Regions from separate parts of the Homo sapiens genome. Here regions 2 and 3 are each linked to region 1. Evidence: promoter capture Hi-C in 16 types of primary human blood cells and fetal thymus (Javierre and others, 2016). All regions are on one chromosome and are shown on one strand. The core of a region is centred on a gene start or on the middle of the fragment in contact, and the rest is flanking DNA. Distances in the headings are between cores, read along the strand shown.

The links. The method cuts DNA at HindIII sites, captures the fragments that hold promoters and counts their contacts. A CHiCAGO score of 5 or more calls a contact.
Region 2: a contact is called between a fragment that was not itself captured here and the fragment with the promoter of TMEM43 in region 1, in 1 of 17 cell types (fetal thymus). The highest score is 8.0, in fetal thymus.
Region 3: the fragment with the promoter of MKRN2 here is called in contact with the fragment with the promoter of TMEM43 in region 1 in 2 of 17 cell types (total B cells and fetal thymus); the score reaches 8.1 in total B cells.

The regions. Positions count from the first base shown.
Region 1 is chr3:14,122,530-14,126,301 of GRCh38, forward strand. TMEM43 (transmembrane protein 43) reads left to right here and starts at 2,523. Exons shown (of 12, transcript NM_024334.3): 1 at 2,523-2,676. The coding sequence starts at 2,665. CHCHD4 (coiled-coil-helix-coiled-coil-helix domain containing 4) reads right to left here and starts at 2,341. Exons shown (of 3, transcript NM_001098502.2): 1 at 2,126-2,341. The coding sequence starts at 2,147. RefSeq lists enhancers at 1-494, 1,966-2,700, 2,568-2,767, 2,701-3,435, 2,868-3,157 and 1 more and silencers at 1,758-1,807, 1,818-2,377. The HindIII fragment of the contact is 788 bases long and covers 2,408-3,195 here.
Region 2 is chr3:12,807,949-12,812,622 of GRCh38, forward strand. CAND2 (cullin associated and neddylation dissociated 2 (putative)) reads left to right here. Exons shown (of 15, transcript NM_001162499.2): 4 at 262-385; 5 at 2,111-2,376. Among named protein-coding and RNA genes, the nearest start is that of CAND2, 14 kb to the left of the region's middle. RefSeq lists a silencer at 2,139-2,588. The HindIII fragment of the contact is 687 bases long and covers 2,934-3,620 here.
Region 3 is chr3:12,553,881-12,558,617 of GRCh38, forward strand. It overlaps MKRN2 (makorin ring finger protein 2), which reads left to right and starts at 3,207. Exons shown (of 8, transcript NM_014160.5): 1 at 3,207-3,296. The coding sequence starts at 3,271. It also overlaps a transcript of MKRN2OS not described here. RefSeq lists enhancers at 2,827-2,936, 2,987-3,046, 3,434-3,957, 3,867-3,926 and a silencer at 3,217-3,306. The HindIII fragment of the contact is 4,764 bases long and covers 78-4,737 here.

The DNA of each region.
Region 1 (3,772 bases), core at 1,273-3,772:
TGCCAAACCAACGAGTTTAACCTGAAGGCTGGGTAGCAGGTGGACCCCTGAAATAAACTTGTACAGGCAAGTGATTCACTCAGAACAGAGGGCAGGTAAATGCATGATTCAATAAAGATGTGGGCACCCATTGTACACCAAGCCCTGTGCTAGATGCTGGGGATTCCACAGCCCATCTGATGCTCTCAGCTTAGTGCGAGAAGACAGGCAGGAAGTAAGATGGCAAAAAATAAAAAAGGTCATTTCAGACAGTTCAGGATGTGAAAGACACAAAGGGTCAGGAGGTGATATTGGAGCTAAATGTTAAAGGATGAGGAGTCAGCCACGGAAGAGCTGAAGGCAGGATATACCAAACCAAGGGAATAGCCAAGAGGCTAGAGGCTGGGCAGCAAAAGGGTGGGAAGAGACCAGGCTGGAAAGGCAGACAGGGCCAGATCACATAAGCTCTGATACAGTAAGCAGTTTGGGATCATTTTTTAAAAATCCTATGGGAAGCATAAAGGATCAGTGGGGGGCGGAGGGGGGGAAGTTAGGGACTTCTTACGGGGACAGTGGTATGCACAAGATAAATACTAAGGAAGGCCTATAAGTGAGTGCTTTCAATTCTCACTCCTCTCCGAACTAAGAGAGATCTTTGAAGCAGGAAAAGATAGGGCTCCATGTTTTGGAGGCAGATGGACCTAGCCTCCCCTTTCCAGAGAAAACTGCCTCCTGTAAATCCTCAAAGAGGAGGGTCTTGTTTATCAGCACAGCCTCATTATACCCAAAGGCTCAAAAATTATTTGCTAAATGAAGTAAATTAGAGAAAGACTCGAAATTAAAAACAAGAGTGGTGAGGGCAGAGGACTTTTGCTTATGGCACACATTAAGTAGTAATCAGCGGAAATATAATAGTACTCATTAAAGAGTGAGTCTTATGGCTTTACGACCCAGAGGAGGAGAGGTTCTAGAAGCAGACAGCGCCACCAGGGAAAAGGCTCAGAATTTTAGGCTGAGCTAGTCTCCTAACTGGATGTGTAACTACAGGTAGGCCACCTCCTTCTCTGGGCTTCAGATTGCTTGAATTAACTGACGGAGCTGGAGTATTCACCAAAGAATTTCTGGGGGACTTCCAACTCTCTCTGTAGTTTTATAACCATCCATCCCCCTTCTCTGGCGCAGAGAAGGTGCTTCATGAGTATTTGCCGTATCAATGAAGCCCAACATCTCATTTTACAACACTGGATACCAGGGCCTGGAGGGGTTAGGTGGGAGCTCAGGGCCAAGGAGCCAGTTTGTGGCAGTGTGTGGGGAGGCCCTCCGACCTGTGGCTCGGGTACTTCTGAGCTCTTGGGTAGAGTAACATCAAGGAAGCAGTAGGTGGTCGGAGCTCAACTTTGGGGTGGGAGGTAGGCAGGGTTCTCCCTGCAATCCACTGGGCACTAGATTGGATAAGGCTCTTCTGGGGTCACAATGCCCAGGCTCAAACCCCAGCTCCACGATTTGCTGGCTGAGTGGCTTTAGCCATGTCTCCTGTGTCTAACTTTACTCTTCAGTAAAATGTGACCAACAACAGAGCCTGACTTACAAAGGTCGCAGCGAGATCTGTGAGACAAGCCAGGCAAGTTTCCTTGAACAGTGCCTGACAGGTAGCAGGGGGCTCAAAAACATTCCCGTTAGTGGAACTCCTAGCACTCCAGCACAGCACACGCTACCCCGAGTGGCAACTTTTCGGGACGCGCCTTTTAAAGGCGCGTGCAAAATGTAAACACGTGGGGTATGGCAGGAGCGGTAGTGATAATTAACCACCATACATTCCCAGTTTCGAGCCACACGCAACGTGCTCGGCACTTCCCGTGCCCCAACCGGACCTAGTTTACGACTTCCTACGCACAGGCCCCTCTGAGGTCAGGGTTCGGGCTTCACTGTGACCTTGGACCAGCCCCGTTCCCCCCAGAGCTTCGGTTTTCTCATCCGCAAAACAGGAGTAGCGACCCCCCAGCCGGCCCGCCTCCGAGTGTCCCAGGGTGGGCACCTGGGCCGCGCCTCAGGTGGCCCGCGCCCGGCGTGGTCGCGGGGCGCCGGGGCCCGCGTGTCTCCCGCAGGCCCTCGTAGGCCGGTCTCCGTGGCAGCCCGCCCTCCCTACCTTCCTGCCGGCAATAGGACATGGCTGCAGCCCGTCCCTGAGACCTTGCAGAAGCGGCGGTGGCGGCAGCTGCACCTTTACGCCGTGACCTCCCTCTCCTCTGGCAGGGCGGGCTCCTCCGAAGCCCGCGCGGACCCGCCCCCTCCCAGGCCTGCCCGCCGCGCGCCTGCCTCGGCGCCCTCGCAACCGCGGCCAGGCCAACCTCAGCCGGAAACTACATTTCCCAGCAGGTCGCGCGCTCCTCGACAGCTCTCCAGGCAGTAGAAACTACATTTCCCCGAAAGCTTTGCAGTGCGCAGGCGCATCAATGAGGTACTGCAATGTCCCGGACCGTATAGTTTCCAGGACGTCTCGCCGCGCGCATGCGCAGAAACACTGGGCACAGGGGGAGGTAACTGCAGTAAGTCCCGCTTGGCCCTGGAGTCCACGCGGATTTTCGAAGCTGGGGCTGGCAAGAGGCCGCTGGACACCACGCTCCAGTCGTCAGCCCACTTCCTAGCTGAACAGCGCGAGGCGGCGGCAGCGAGCCGGGTCCCACCATGGCCGCGAATGTGAGTATCCCCGGGCCAGCCGGGCCACACCCAGGCTTCCCCGTCGCCCTGGGGCTTTTCCCCGGGGTCCTCTAGGTCCATTTCGCCGCCTGGAGCTCCTCCGTGCGGCTAGGCCCGCATCTCCCTCTGCTCGCCGTGTCTGTGCCTTCGCCAGCTCATCCCTCTGCTCATCTCGCGGCCTGTCCAGGCTTCTTTTGTCCGTGTTCCTTGGCTCGCCTCGTCCTCGGCGTTCGTGCGGAGGCGGACTCGGAGGTGTTGCTCCCGTACTGGGATCTGCTTGTACGCCTCTCCGCGGCCCCTCCTTGCATTCCCAGTTCCCTCCTGTACCTTGGGGCCCTGAAACTTGCGCATTATGAGAGCTGGACGCGACCTCAGAGAGGGCGCCAGTCCCTTGGGAGGGAGGAAGGCGATCCAGCCCAAGTGGAGCTGTCCAGCAATGGACAGACAGGGCTGTCCAGGCGGGCAGAGAGCTCTCCGCCCTAGGGAGTCTCTGTAAACCGAGTCTGTGATGCTCCAAAAAGCTTAGGCTGGGCTGGGAGCGAAGGAGTTGGGGGAGAGGGAGCATTTCTCTACTGTCGGGGCCCCTCCTCCCCCTAGCAAGGATTTGGTTGGAGGAGGCCTGGCTGAGGGCTGTTCCCTCAAGGCCTCTTCTCCCTGCAACTAGCCTTTCTCGGGAAACTATTTAAGCCCAACATTCATTCAACAAGCAGCGCCTCCTACCAGGGCGCTGGGTGTGGGAGAAGCTGGTGACTCACCTCTCCCCTCCTCTGTGAAAGTGCTTCTAGGGCCCGCTTAGGAGCCCAGCCAGCCCCAGACACACCCTCCCTCCTGCTTTGGTAGAGTGTCCTAGCAGCTCTCCCCTTGCCTGTCACACCCTATTTCCAGACACCGCCTCTGTCCCCAAGCGTCCTCTCTGCCTCCCACACCCCTTGAGAGGCCAGGGTGTGCATCACCCACAGCCCTAGTACACTTTGTCTCGGGTTAGTATCATCCACACTCCCAGGACATTTCGGGCCCACAGGAGGGTTAGAAGCCTTGAATGTTGTACCTAGAAAAGCCTCAGAGGTATTCGGAGAGACTCAGGCTCGGCCAGGCG
Region 2 (4,674 bases), core at 2,027-4,526, 1.3 Mb before region 1:
CCTCCCTAGTGGAATGGGGAAAGGAAGAAGGGCTTGGGTGTGTGTAAGTCACCCAGAAGCTCGGCCATCAGCTCTGCAGCTCCCCTAGCTGTCTCCTTGACTTTGGCCAGACTCTGGGTCAAACCTGGGACCTCTGGAGCCCTGGTAAGATTCCCGGGGATGTGGGCTCAGGAACACAGCCAGAGCAGAGGCAGACTAGTGGTGGAGGCTGCCTTTCCCCCAGGCCAGGGCCTCACTGTGCCCACCTTGTGCCCTGTGCAGGCTCCGGGCTGGCCACCAACGTGTGCCGGAAGATCACAGGCCAGCTCACCAGTGCCATTGCCCAGCAGGAGGATGTGGCTGTGCAGCTGGAAGCCCTGGACATCCTCTCTGACATGCTGAGCAGGTGTGGGAGGCCATCCTGGGTATTGAGGAAGAGTGGGTAAAAGGGGACAGGGAGGGACTCAAATCACAGAGCTAGCACCTACTGCACACCAGGCCCTGTGCTTGGGGCTCCTTAATCATCCCAGCAGCCTCGTAAAGGAGAACTCAATTGTCACAATTTTACAGGCTCTGAGAGATGATGCGGTCAGTAAAACCTCCCATGACTTGAACACCTGCTCTGGCCAGAAAAATGTCAGGTGCTGGCCTAGTGTTGGGAACATGGGGTTAGATCAGTCTTGGTTGTTCTAGGGAGGAGTTCACAGACATGTATAAAACTGTGAATGGAGTAAGCACAACAGTAAGGATAAGAGCAGGGCTGATAGGAGCTCAGAGGAGCCCCCAGTCCAGCTGGGAGTGAGGAGCCTTCTAAAAGAGAGTGCTGCTAGAGCTGAGCCTTCGAGGAGGGGCAGGACTTAGCTGAGTTTGGGCAGGTATAAAGAGGATGCTGGAGGGGAGACTGTCCCCAGTCCAGAAGGCAGAGACAGGGGAAGACTTGGGGTCCCAGAGTCTGCCAGGGGTCGTGGGGCAGGCTGTAATGTGGAGAGGTGGGTATGCAGAGCTGAGGTGCAGGGCTGGCCAGGAGCCATGGGGCAGGGGTGAGTATTTGTGTGTTCTACCCTGATCTTTCTCTCTGCAGTGGAGAGTAGGTGGGAGGGGATTGAACAGGCAGGGGACTGGTTAAGAGGCTGCTATAGGGAAAGCAATTCGGGTTGTATTCAGGAGGGGGACTCCACAGGACTTGGAGTGGGCAGGGGAGGCAGGGACTGGAGGCTGACCCCTAGGGTTCTGCCTTTAGTAACTGGCGGGGGCAGACAGAGGTGCTGTGATGGGGTGCACTCCGGGAGCCAGCAGCAGGTGTGTGGGGAGGAAGGTGATGGATTCAAGCTGGGGCATGTTGAACTTGAGGCTCCTGGGAGGCACTCACTCAACCACACACTCCATGAGGGCAGCTCCCAGGATCAGTCTGTCTTGTTCACCCTGGCTTCCAGCACAGTCCCTGTCACTTAGCAGGTGAACAGGCAAACAAATGAAACCTAGGAGAGGGGGTTGGGTAGGACATAGAAATAAGGGAGGGTAAGGTCAGCGTGTTTCTGTAAAGTGAGAAAGAAAAGGTCTCAAGATGTTTACAGGACAGAAAATGCACGGGCCTCGTTTGAAGGTGTGGATAGAAGCTGCTGAGGCAGGCAGGAGCTGTGCTGTGTGCGCAGAAACCATTGTCTGGTGTTGCCTCTTGTCTTGAGCCCAGAGCTCAGCATCTCCAAAGGCACTAGGGAGCCATGGAAGGAGTTAAGCAGAGGAGTGACCAGGTGAGAAGTAGACTTTATACTGCTCTGGTCTCAGCGAGGAGGATGGACAGAAGGGGATGGTATTGAGGCAAGGCCTAGACTTCCAAGAAATAGGGACAGCCTTACTAGATCCTCTATGCTTTCCCCTATCAGGTCTTTCTCCCTAGGCTGGGAGCCAGGCTTTGCACTGCTGAGAAGTCCCTTTCTCTCTCCGCTTTCTCTCATGTAACAAAAGTAATTAAAATAATTCCTCCTCACAGTTGCAGGGCACCTCTTTTGCAAGGGCCATTGAGTTGCCATAATCCTGGGAAGGAGGCCGGGAGAGAATGGGGAGAGGGGCGGAGCCTGGCCCAGGTTGCCCGCGGAGTGCGATCGGCCTGATGCCCCCTCGTGCTCCCCAGGCTGGGTGTCCCGCTGGGCGCCTTCCACGCCAGCCTCCTGCACTGTCTGCTGCCACAGCTGAGCAGCCCGCGCCTGGCGGTGCGCAAGCGGGCGGTCGGAGCGCTTGGCCACCTGGCGGCCGCCTGCAGCACCGACCTCTTCGTCGAGCTCGCTGACCACCTACTGGACCGGCTGCCCGGCCCGCGGGTGCCCACCAGCCCGACTGCCATCCGCACCCTGATCCAATGTTTGGGCAGCGTCGGCCGCCAGGCCGGCCACCGCCTCGGTAAGGGGGCAGGGGGCGGGGCCTGGGCTGGCATGGTGGGCGGAGCTTAGGGTGAGCCAATGACTCGGTAAAGGGGCGGAGCTTGGGCCGCAGTGCAGCCAGGGCCTAAGGGTGGGCCGTCTGCCTTGGTAGGGAGGATGGGGCGGGGCCTGGGCTGATGTGGTGGGTGGGGCCTGGGGCGGGCGGCTGAAGCCCCTGAAACGCAGAGGTTGGGGCCGGATAGGGCTTGAGAGGCGCAGGGCGGGCCCTGAGCTCGACAAACCCCCAGGCCTGAGCCCCTGCTGAGTGCAGACGGTTCAGAGAAGGGGGTTGGTTCAATCACTTATGAGACGTGGAGGCTGGCTGGTAATTACAATTTTAAGTCATGCCACTAAACTGTTAGACTATGTTCTCTTCTCCCAGTTTGACAAAGATATCTTAGTAACAGCCCATGAGCCAAGTTTGAATTTTTAAGAAACAATTTAATGTGCATACAATAAACCGCACTATTTAAAGTGTGCAATTCAGTGTGTTTTGACCTTTGTGTATATCCGTGAAACCTTTCCATCACCCCCAAAAGCTTCCTTGTGTCCGTTTGCAGTCCAGCTCTCTGCCTTGTCCAGGAAGCCACTGATCTGCTTTCTGTCACTATAGATTAGTTTTTTAGAAATGGAAAGCTGCAATCAGGTTTGAATGTATCCTCAGACACCTTGGAGTTCTGACTATACCAAGACAGTTTGGATAGAACTGGCATATGGTCAGCCCCTCCCAACCCCTGGCTCTCTCACTGCAAGGGGCCTTGCAGGCACACGGCGGGGGGTGGGGGGGGGAACCCCAGCTGACATGGCCACACCCTGTCCCATTTCTCCCAAACAGCAGCCAGCCCTCAGCCATCCTTGGTTGCATGGACCTAGGAAAGAGGCCTGCGCAGGCTCGGACAAGGGGTCAGGATCCATTGGGCAGGAAACTCGGGTCCCCAGATACCCAGACAGAATGGAGTCTAGGAGTGTTGGGGGTCTCTAGGTCAGCATGTCTCTTCTTATGCTGTAGGGAAGGGTATGGCTGGAGAAGGGCTTGAGTGGAGTGCTCTAAAGCCTGGAGACCAGGCAGGAACCCCTCTTGCCTGGTCTATTAGGGCAGTACCTGCCTCCCTTTCTCCTATCCAAGGACTTAAACCTAGTGAAGGAAATTAGGCCAGGACATGAATAATGGTTTTGATAACAGATGCTATTTATCGAGTGCCTGCTCGTGTAGAACCTGGACTAAGCTTTTTTATTTATTTTTTTGAGACGGAGTCTCGCTCTGTTGCCCAGGCTGGAGTGCAATGGTGCAGTCTCGGCTCACCGCAACCTCCGCCTCCCGGATTCAAGTGATTCTCCTGTCTCAGCCTCCTGAGTAGCTGGCACTACAGGCGCACGCTACCATACCCAGCTAATTTTTGTATTTTTAGTAGAGACGGGGTTTAACTATGTTGGTTGGCCAGGTTGGTCTTGAACCCCTGACCTTGTGATCCCATGATCTGCCCGCCTCGGCCTCCCAAAGTGCTGGGATTACAGGGGTGAGCCACTGCACCCAACCTTGGACTAAGCTTTTTTAACTTCTTTTTTTTTTTTCTTTTTGAGACTGAGTCTCGTGTCTTGCTCTGTTTCCCAGGCTGGAGTGTAGTGGCACGATCTCTGCTCACTGTAACCTCCACCTCCCAGGTTCAAGCAATTCTGCCTCAGCCTCCCAAGTAGCTGGGATTACAGGGGCGCACTGCCACGTGCAGCTAATTTTTGTATTTTTAGTAGAGATGGAGTTTCACCATGTTGGCCAAGCTGGTCTCGAACTCCTGACCTCAGATGATCCATCTGCCTTGGCCTCCCAAAGTGCTGGGATTACAGGTGTGAGCCACCATGCCCGGCCTAAGCTGTTTATCTTTTTTTTTTTTTTTTTTTGGAGATAGAATCTCGCTCTGTCCCCCAGGCTGGAGTACGGTGACGCTATCTTGTCTCACTGCAACCTCCACCTCCCAGGTTCAAGCAATTCTCCTGCCTCAGCCTCCTGAATAGCTGGGACTACAGGTGTGTGCCACCGTGCCCGGCTAATTTTTTTTTTTTTTTTTTTTTTTTTGAGACGGAGTCTCGCTCTGTCGCCCAGGCCAGACTGCGGACTGCAGTGGCGCAATCTCGGCTCACTGCAAGCTCCGCTTCCCGGGTTCACGCCATTCTCCTGCCTCAGCCTCCTGAGTAGCTGGGACTACAGGCGCCCGCCACCGCGCCCGGCTAATTTTTTGTATTTTTAGTAGAGACGGGGTTTCACCTTGTTAGCCAGGATAGT
Region 3 (4,737 bases), core at 1,957-4,456, 1.6 Mb before region 1:
CGGAAATTTTAGGAATATCATTTAAAATAGCATCGAAAACCGCTTCTAGGGGCAGGTCGGCACACAAAGAAAACGAAAGCTTTGCAAGACCCTCGGCGCACGTCTGCGCAAAGGGTCTCTGTGTCTCTACGCCCAGATGGCCATTTTGAGTCCCGAGCTGGCAGCCACCCTTCTCTTCTGTTTTCTCAGCTTCTTCACCCGCTTCTATCTGATAGCCTTTTTCTCCCGAGTGTTTGGTAGCAAAGTTGCTTTTCCTAAGGGGCGAGAACGGGAGCTGGTGGTTAGCAAGCAGACGCAGTTTTACGCGCCCCTGCTACGGGCAGGAGCGAGTGGCCCTGCCTTCTCTGCCAGCGCGGGTTCCCTGGGGGTGAGGAAAGTGAGTTCCACGTCCCGGGTGGGGCAGGACTTGGTGTTTAGTGCCCAGCGCCAGATAACGCCGGAAGAACCCCAAGTGGAGACTGCTTGCATCCTTCGGGAAAAGTCTAAGTGCTAAGTACCATGACAGTGGCAGGAACCAAGCTGTTGGGTACAGCTTGTGGAAGTGCACACTGGCTGTCGTTGATCCAGTGTTGTATTATTTTTTCATAAATATATATGAAATATATGAAATATATATGAAATATAAAAATATATATATATATTGCCCATGACACAGACCTCAGGAGATCCTGAGAACATGTGCCCGATCCAGTGTTTTATTTGCACAGACACCCTAAAGGGCACCAGCAGTACAAGGCTGATGAAATAACTTATGGCATAGTCGTACAACGGAATACTATACAGTTCTACGAAAGGAGGAAGAGGCTCTATGTACTGATATGGAAAAATCTCCACTGATTATGTACGCTGTGCAGAACAGTACGTTATGTTATCTTTTCTACAAAAAGGAGAAAATAATATATATGTATTTACTTGTGTATATTTAAAGAAATTCTGGAAAGATGTATACAAATTTGATAACAGTGGCCAGGTTTTGAGGTTTTAAAAAATGTTTCTGCTTTTTGTTTTGAAGAGGCGGGAACTAAATTGACAGGAGACTGAGACTTTTCACTTTACGCTTTTAAAATATTTGAACATAATAACGTTCAGATCGTGAATGTATTCCATAAAGAATGAGATAAGCTGAATTTTAAAAATAAGTGGCATGGGCTGGGCGCGGTGGCTCTCGCCCGTAATCCCAGCACTTTGGGAGGCCGAGGCGGGTGGATTGCCTGAGCTCAGAAGTTCGAGACCAGCCTGGGCAACAGGGTGAAACCCCGTCGCTACTAAAACACAAAAAATCAGCTGGGCGTGGCAGCGTGCGCCTGTATAATCCCAGCTACTCCGGAGGCTGAGACAGGAGAATCGCTTGAACACGGGAGGTGGAGGTTGCAGTGAGCCAAGAGCATGCCACTGCACTCCAGCCTGGGTGACAGAGCAAGACTCCGTCTCAAAAAAAAAAAAAAAAAAGACGTGTAATTTTTATGAGCATGAATTGCATGGATCAAATGTGTTATGAGTTAAAATGCAATATTCAAGACACTGAAAACAAAATTTCCAGTATACTTCCAAATTCCTGAGAAAAATTTCAAAAGTTCTAAATAATTGGAAGTATATACCATGCTCATTCATTGGAAGACTCAATATTTTTATAGCAAAGTAAAAAAAGAACATACAGCTATACATACATAACATGGAAAGATCTCACAGATAAAATGTTGGTCAAAAGAAGGCAGACAAAAGCGTAGGTACTGAATTATTATTTATATGAAAGTCAAGAACAGTTAAACTAATTTATAGTGATAGAGATGAACCCAAGCAATGACCTTTGTAAAGTATTGCCTGGGAAGGACCATAAGGAAGCCCTTCTGGGGTGTCGATAATATCCAGCCCCCACCCACCCCCTGCAGCCTCGACTGCAGTGAACTATGCTCAAAGGATCCTTCCGGCTCAACCTCTCCTTACTCCAGCATTTTGAAGTTTAGTCGAGCATGGTGTCGCGCACCTGTATTCCCAGCTGCTGGGGAGGTTAAGGCAGAGGACTGCTTGAACTATGATGGCGCCACTGCACTCCAGCCTGGGCGACAGAGCAAGACCCTGCCTCAAAACAAAACAAAAAATTCTTTATTTTGATCTGGGTGGTAGTTTCATGAGTGTATGCATGTGCAAAAATTCATAGAATGTGTTTGGTGCACTTATATTGTGCATGTTATGTATCTCGAGTTTTTAAGCAATGAGAAACCATTGTAAGATTAAAAGGTGAATGACATGATCCGATTTATGTTTTAAAAATAGATTTTTACCAGGAACGGAAGCCAGAAGACCAGTTAAAAGGCTATCGCATGGCTGGCCAGGCGTGCACGCCTGTAATTCCAGCTACGTGGAAGGCTGAGAGGCAGGAGAATCGCTTGAACCCGGGAGGCGGAGGTTGCAGTGAGCCGAGATCGCCCCACTGCACTCCAGCCTGGGCAACAAGAGAGAAACTCCGTCTCAAAAAAATAAAAAATAAAATAATAATAATTAAAAAAAAAGGTATCGCATGGTGCTAGGTAGAAGGGACGGTGGAAAGGGGGCAGAAGAGGACGCATTGGACAGAGGTGTGGGAGCAGAATCTGCAGGGTATAGAGAGCTAGAGGGAAGTGTCAAAAATAACTTTTGGGGTTTCCACCATAGGAAATGGAAGACGAGCAGCACAAGACTGGCAGGAAAGAAAATGAAGACTAAAACTTGTGGAAGTAGAGATTTGGGGAAAGAGCAGTTGGGAGAGAGCTAAGGAATTTCCTTAAGTGGGAGGCGAGGTCCGGCGGGAACAGTTGAGGCAGGGCCTGAGAAGGGTGCCCAGTGAGTGCGAGTATGAATGGATAGGGGCATCCGGGATTAAGAGGAGAGGCTGGAGTTTCCCCAGGAGTGGTGAAGTGCCTCGAAGGAGGCGGGAGATCCCTAAGGAATACTCTTGGCGATCGGGGCAGAATCGCAGGCACTAACAGTAGGCATCGGGATAAGACTGGCAGGACTAAGATGCCAGCCAGGCTCCGCCCCGGAGGCTTGGAAGTGCGGGACACCGAGAGCAGGGATGCCGGGACAGCCGGCCCGATCCCCGGTGCGGAACCAATTGTGACGACGGCTAGGTTACCCGCCGGCGCTACAAAGGTGCCACACCGGAGGGGCGGCGTGCGCCGGCGTGCGCCGGCGTGACGCGGCTACGCGGGATGGGCCGGGCCAGGGCCAAGGCCGAGGCGGCAGCGGCTGCGAGAGGCGGCGGCACGACGACGGTCCCTCAGCCCAGCCACCATGAGCACCAAGCAGATCACTTGCAGGTCAGTGCGCTGGAGCCAGGAGCTTCGGGCCGCTCCCCCAGGCCGCAGGGGGGCCGGTGCGCGCCAGTGCTGTGGTCCGGGAACCTGAGGCTAGAGCGGGACTCGGAAAGTTACTCGGCTGTTCGCGGCGGGGCTTTGCGAGGCAGAGCGAGCGCTGCCGCCACAGCCGGGGATCCGGGGGATGCGTGGCCGAGACGCTGGGCGAGGCCAGCGCGGGGGGCTACGCCCCGAGTTTGAAGCGTGGCCCCTGTGGGCTGGGAGGAAGGACGTCCTAGCCAGGGCCGTGCAGGATGCCGGGGCGCTGTCGGGAAGGCTCTGGGGCTTACGCTTTAACTGGAAAAGATTTGAAGTTGAGTAAAGGGACGCCGAGAGGACGGTTACAAATGGGGATACCACATAGGAGTAATTTGTTAATCGATTATGAGGGCCTCAAAGTTTGGAGAATCCAGATGCAATCTAAACTTGCAGAGAGTTAACAAGTAAAAGTTGTTGTGTGGAAAATAACGACAGGTAGCATATTGTGAATATCGGCGAAGCGCCCTGCATATTTCCAAGTCCTTTATATTCATTATCATCAGACTTCACAGTAAGACAACTTAGTAGTTATTATTACCATTTTACAGTGCAGGAAACTGAGACCGAAAGACGTTGACACTCATTTATCTTACTGAGAGAGCCATTTACGAGGAGAAATGCGACGGTAATGGATGGTTTATTGTAGAAAATAGCCAGATAGCTACACTACGACTGCTCCTATGAAATAGAATAGTGTGGTTGTGTAACACCCTCATTGCTTGGTCAGCTTGTGGCTTACTGGTAATGGAGTCTAGTCCTATTGAATTGTATGTTTGGAAAACGCAAATTGAATTGTATGCTTGGAAAATGCAAATTTCATTTAATAATTTTTATGGGAAACATTGCTTAAAAACAGTTATAGAGTTTGTGTAATAAACAGTTTATTTTCTATGTTGTTACTTCTCTTCATTGGTATGAATAGTTGAGACGTGACTGTGTAGTAAGTTTTCTGTTAGCATTAGTGTACATTTACTGTTCAATTTATCCAAGGCCCAGGTGGCTTATGTTAAGCTGTTGTCAGAAATTTGCACCTAGTGTCTATAAAAAGACTTTTACTAGGTTATTTGTACTAGAAGGTGTTTTGTGAAGACGGGTTTGTGTGTGTTTACGTATTTTTATTTGTATAAAGTTTCTCCTGCTGGAGGAAGTATTCCTAGGTCATTGTGCACTGTAAAGCAGCTTGTAGCCTCCTAGAAAAACCTCTGTATTCCTCCCCTCGCTCTATGGTTTAATTCTACCATTTATTCCCGTACCTCATCTAAGAAGTGTCCACAAAACAGTACACATTTATGTAATAATGCTTTATAATTGAATCTCAACTCTGTAGTATCTTATTTTACAAATAAGGAATCTTATGCTCAGAAAG